2 separate regions of the Homo sapiens genome follow, and region 1 is linked to region 2. Evidence: promoter capture Hi-C in human tissues and cell types (Jung and others, 2019). All regions are on one chromosome and are shown on one strand. The core of a region is centred on a gene start or on the middle of the fragment in contact, and the rest is flanking DNA. Distances in the headings are between cores, read along the strand shown. Region 1 overlaps PERP (p53 apoptosis effector related to PMP22). Region 2 holds the start of CCDC28A (coiled-coil domain containing 28A).

Region 1 (2,700 bases), core at 50-2,549, 680 kb after region 2:
CTAATGTGTATTTATTCCTTCATGCATGTATGCATTCATACCCTGGGATTTTTTTCTTCCCTTTAGCTGTGTTCCAGATCATCTCCCTGGTAATTTACCCCGTGAAGTACACCCAGACCTTCACCCTTCATGCCAACCCTGCTGTCACTTACATCTATAACTGGGCCTACGGCTTTGGGTGGGCAGCCACGATTATCCTGATTGGCTGTGCCTTCTTCTTCTGCTGCCTCCCCAACTACGAAGATGACCTTCTGGGCAATGCCAAGCCCAGGTACTTCTACACATCTGCCTAACTTGGGAATGAATGTGGGAGAAAATCGCTGCTGCTGAGATGGACTCCAGAAGAAGAAACTGTTTCTCCAGGCGACTTTGAACCCATTTTTTGGCAGTGTTCATATTATTAAACTAGTCAAAAATGCTAAAATAATTTGGGAGAAAATATTTTTTAAGTAGTGTTATAGTTTCATGTTTATCTTTTATTATGTTTTGTGAAGTTGTGTCTTTTCACTAATTACCTATACTATGCCAATATTTCCTTATATCTATCCATAACATTTATACTACATTTGTAAGAGAATATGCACGTGAAACTTAACACTTTATAAGGTAAAAATGAGGTTTCCAAGATTTAATAATCTGATCAAGTTCTTGTTATTTCCAAATAGAATGGACTCGGTCTGTTAAGGGCTAAGGAGAAGAGGAAGATAAGGTTAAAAGTTGTTAATGACCAAACATTCTAAAAGAAATGCAAAAAAAAAGTTTATTTTCAAGCCTTCGAACTATTTAAGGAAAGCAAAATCATTTCCTAAATGCATATCATTTGTGAGAATTTCTCATTAATATCCTGAATCATTCATTTTAGCTAAGGCTTCATGTTGACTCGATATGTCATCTAGGAAAGTACTATTTCATGGTCCAAACCTGTTGCCATAGTTGGTAAGGCTTTCCTTTAAGTGTGAAATATTTAGATGAAATTTTCTCTTTTAAAGTTCTTTATAGGGTTAGGGTGTGGGAAAATGCTATATTAATAAATCTGTAGTGTTTTGTGTTTATATGTTCAGAACCAGAGTAGACTGGATTGAAAGATGGACTGGGTCTAATTTATCATGACTGATAGATCTGGTTAAGTTGTGTAGTAAAGCATTAGGAGGGTCATTCTTGTCACAAAAGTGCCACTAAAACAGCCTCAGGAGAATAAATGACTTGCTTTTCTAAATCTCAGGTTTATCTGGGCTCTATCATATAGACAGGCTTCTGATAGTTTGCAACTGTAAGCAGAAACCTACATATAGTTAAAATCCTGGTCTTTCTTGGTAAACAGATTTTAAATGTCTGATATAAAACATGCCACAGGAGAATTCGGGGATTTGAGTTTCTCTGAATAGCATATATATGATGCATCGGATAGGTCATTATGATTTTTTACCATTTCGACTTACATAATGAAAACCAATTCATTTTAAATATCAGATTATTATTTTGTAAGTTGTGGAAAAAGCTAATTGTAGTTTTCATTATGAAGTTTTCCCAATAAACCAGGTATTCTAAACTTGTTTCCAGTTTGTAGTTTTTCCATTTTTCAAATCTGGGGAAAGGAATTAAAAAAAAAATGGGTAATAAGAACATGGGATATAATGAAAAGTGGTTTTTGTTTGTTTTTTTGTTTGAAGTTTTAAGGGCCTTGCTCATTTTAGGTGTCCAAAACCAATTTTTGAGTGGAGATTAATGAATTCTAATAGTCTATTCCCTGAACTTTTCCTCAATGAACAATACCCTAGACACACATTAAACAATTTCTCTGCAGTGCTATCAACCAGAGGAAAATGGACTAAGAGATTTCTGGCAGGTTCAGACACCCGGGGGACATGTGTGCAGTGTAGCTGAAGCCTCCTCCTTGTGCTGGGGTCCCCTTCCATTCAGGTGGTGGGGTAGCAGTCTCTCTATTTTCCCCTTGCCCTCCTTCCCATTTTATCATTTGTTATTTTTTTTCCCACCATAAGTCATATGTTACTTCCACTATGGTGTATGTCATTGTGAGGATGGGTGCAGAGAGGCTGGGTGGGAGAACGGAAATATATCTCCCTAGGGCTACTGTTGGCCAGCTAGTCCTTGGCAGTGAATTTTTCTATGCTTTTCAAAATGCGAGGTGAATGTTTCTCATAGAGAAATGTAATCTGGGTGATTATACCAAAATTGAAAAGAAAAACCCACACAACTATGCCGTGGCTGGTGGAGAATTTGAAGTGGTCATTAAAAATGTTAAAAATCCCATCTTTTAAAGTGATACCACAGCTCATTCAAGAAGATACTGGATATCTAGAGATTAAGAAACGTGGTCTCCTGTTAAACATGAAAATGACTCCGTTTATAAGCTTCTCTACCACATGCACTTGTCTTTGCATGATTTCCCATCCAGCCTTCTTCCCCTCCTCAATCACACAATACCTTAACGGCGCACATTTAGGAAAAATGCAACCTCCTGGGACCAACGAGCCTGATATAATAGAACCATGTCAACCTAAAGTATTTATGACAAAGATAAACTCTTATTTTGCAGAAATGGTCTGCTTCCTTCAGCCTTGTTCTAGTATAGAGATCTGCCATTCCTTGTTGATCCAGATTCACCAAGACAGATACCTTTATGTCATAACAGAAGGGAAGTTCCAGAGGATTCTGGAGAGTAATGAAGAATTGGGCTGA
Region 2 (2,700 bases), core at 85-2,584:
CCGGGAGTGGTGGCGGGCGCCTGTAGTCCCAGCTACTCAGGAGGCTGAGGCAGGACAATGGCATGAACCCGGGAGGCGGAGCTTGCCCTGAGCCGAGATGGTGCCACTGCGACAGAGCGAGACTCCGTCTCAAAAACAAAACAAAACAAAACAAAACAAAACAAAAAAACCCCTTCCATACTTTATTTGTGCATAGTGTTAAATTTTTCTTAACTTCATTATTTCATATATCATAAGATGAATTTATATGGCTATCTCTACCTCATCAGGTTGTAAATTGCCTTCTAGAAACATTAGGCCGTTTTTGGCATGCTGTGTTTAATTTAGGCATGCCATGACCATTCAAAAAGATTCAAACCCATTGCTGTCGCTTAAAATAATTATTTGATGAATTCAATAAATTTTTCTTTTTCCTTTTGCCTGGACTTAGTGCCACTGGCACTGGAATTTAAACCACTGAGCTTAAATTGGCTGACGCTAGACAATTACAACTGGAGCTACAATACTGCCAAAGAAGAGGCTTTCTGGGAAAGGCTCCAATGCCCAGTCTCTAATCCCAGATACCACTGGGTGTCAATCCACTTAAACCTTGGCTAACAATTTTTCTTTTAAGAAGCATTTTTTGTAACAGAACAATAATTCTGGTGTTGTTTCAACATGCAACACAAATTAAATGAGAGTTTGAAAGATGACTGAATAGAGACGATTAGTTCTCTGAAGAGGCAAGGATCTGTAAAAATGTATGATACGCATAAACACGCTGGCCTGAAATTTAACGATGCTAATACACACTTGGTGGTACAAGAAAAAAAAATCTAGGAAGTAAAGCAATGCAAATAAACCAGTGGTGGTCTAAACCACAATATTCTGCGGAGCCAGCACTCGCGATTTCCTCGTTTTTGGAAAATTACATCTGTCACAAGAGCACTGAAACCCTTCCTGTATATCAAACAGCAAAGAATGTTTTAGAGAAGGCATAATAAGTAAACTGCTCATAGTTACTTATTCACACAGTGGTTTTAAGTGCCAGGTCTTGCCTCCAAGCAGTACCACTGGGCATCCCTCTTGACATCACCTCATTCCCCTTCCCCAATCTACCGAAGCGATGACCCTTCACCGCCCAGTACCCAGCAGTGACCAGAGTGGTGGGAAGGGCCTAAAGGGGCAGGTTGCGGAGGTTCCTTTGCTTCCACTACATACCTGAAGAAGAAGGGTATTGGGGCCCCCTTCCGCAACCCGCAAAGACCCGACAGCCTCAGAAGCCACCGCCGCAGCCACAAGCAGAGCCCCGGTCACATCCCGGGACCCGCTCCTCCGCAGCTCCGTTTGTTTACGGAAGTGACGTAAGAGGTACAGCCTCCATGCCCCAAGCGGAAGCCCCGCCTTTTCCTGCTCCCCCAGTGTCGCTCTTGGCTCCGCCCTCGGCATTTCATTGCTTCCCCTGTCCTTCCTTTAGCTGTAACTCCGGCGGGCGTGTTGGGTGTGTCGTTTTAGGCTCTGTGACCCAGGAGCAAGACGCAATAAGCGGGTGCAGTGGAGGTAGAAACGGGAAATGCAGTACCCTTTCCGGAAGCTACTCCGCCCCTCGGTGAGTGTTAGATTCCCCCCCCGAACTACAATTCCCAGAATGCTGTTCGAGCATGCCCGAAGGCGGAACCAGAGTGTCGCCATGCAACTGTTCCTTGGTTGTTTCCGATTGGTTGCCCGGACTTCTCGCGGCTAAACTAATTTTGGCTCCAAGGCGGCGTGAAGAGTGTGATTCTGTTCAGCGACCGTGATTCTGTTCAGCGACCATGATGTTGAGCCCCTAATTGAGAGTCTGTTACCACTATTAATAGCTACTCTGTTCGGGCCCTACACATAACGGTGTATCTAAACCTCTCTACAATTTTATGGGTAGGTGTTATACTCTCTGTTTTACAAATGGGGAATTTGAGGCTCAGAAAGGCTAATTGATGCAGGTGTCTCTCTGTCGTCAAAGATAGTTCTACTTCCACTATACTTAAAGCCTCTGGAGAAGGAATTGCAGGCTGAGAGAAAGAGATCTATCTTAAATGAGGGAAGAAATGCACGTTTCATTGCCTGGTCTGGGTAGCCTTCCCGGTGTTGGAGTGGGAGGTGGGAAGGTTTTAGATTCACAGGTCCTTAGATTGAAGGGACTCTGGAGGAACACCACATAGCACCCCCCGCATTAGCTAATGGGGAAACCATATCTAGAGATTGTATCCATGCCAGAAAAGGCAGAGCAAAGACAACCCCAGTCTCTTGGCTTCTAGGATAGGATGTTCTTCCGCCACCCGCCATTTAAAAAAAAAAAACAAAACTATTGAAATGTTAAAAAAAAAAAGCACAGAATAAACAACGCACCCACTATCCAGAACGAACAGATTTATGAATGAAAGAAATGGAGCATTACAGATAAAGAAGGTGTTCCCTATTCTCAGTCCCATTCTACTACCACCCTCAGAGAGGCAACCAGGATCATGAATTTGATATGTATCTTGCCAATCTAGGTTTCTATATTTAAACTATTACTATGTATTATAAACAATATGTAGAATGGTTTGGGGCATTTGAAGTTTTACATGAATGCTATTATATTTTGTGTATTGATCTGCAACTTGATTTTTTCACCAAATTCTGTGTTTTTGAGAGCTATCCACATTGATAAATATAGCTAGACTTTATCAAATAGATTTG

Evidence for each region. The method cuts DNA at HindIII sites, captures the fragments that hold promoters and counts their contacts. A contact is called where the count stands out against the background at its distance.
Region 1: a contact is called between a fragment that was not itself captured here and the fragment with the promoter of CCDC28A in region 2, in 1 of the 25 tissues and cell types used here (dorsolateral prefrontal cortex).

Annotation. Positions count from the first base shown.
Region 1 is chr6:138,089,635-138,092,334 of GRCh38, reverse strand. PERP (p53 apoptosis effector related to PMP22) reads left to right here. Exons shown (of 3, transcript NM_022121.5): 3 at 67-2,700. The coding sequence ends at 293. Among named protein-coding and RNA genes, the nearest start is that of PERP, 16 kb to the left of the region's middle. The HindIII fragment of the contact is 4,944 bases long and covers 1-2,700 here.
Region 2 is chr6:138,772,403-138,775,102 of GRCh38, reverse strand. It overlaps CCDC28A (coiled-coil domain containing 28A), which reads right to left and starts at 1,334. Exons shown (of 6, transcript NM_015439.3): 1 at 1,201-1,334. It overlaps CCDC28A-AS1 (CCDC28A antisense RNA 1), which reads left to right and starts at 1,400. Exons shown (of 3, transcript NR_161205.1): 1 at 1,400-1,588. RefSeq lists enhancers at 1,022-1,081, 1,442-1,501, 1,522-1,571, 935-1,608, 1,609-2,283. The HindIII fragment of the contact is 9,932 bases long and covers 1-2,700 here.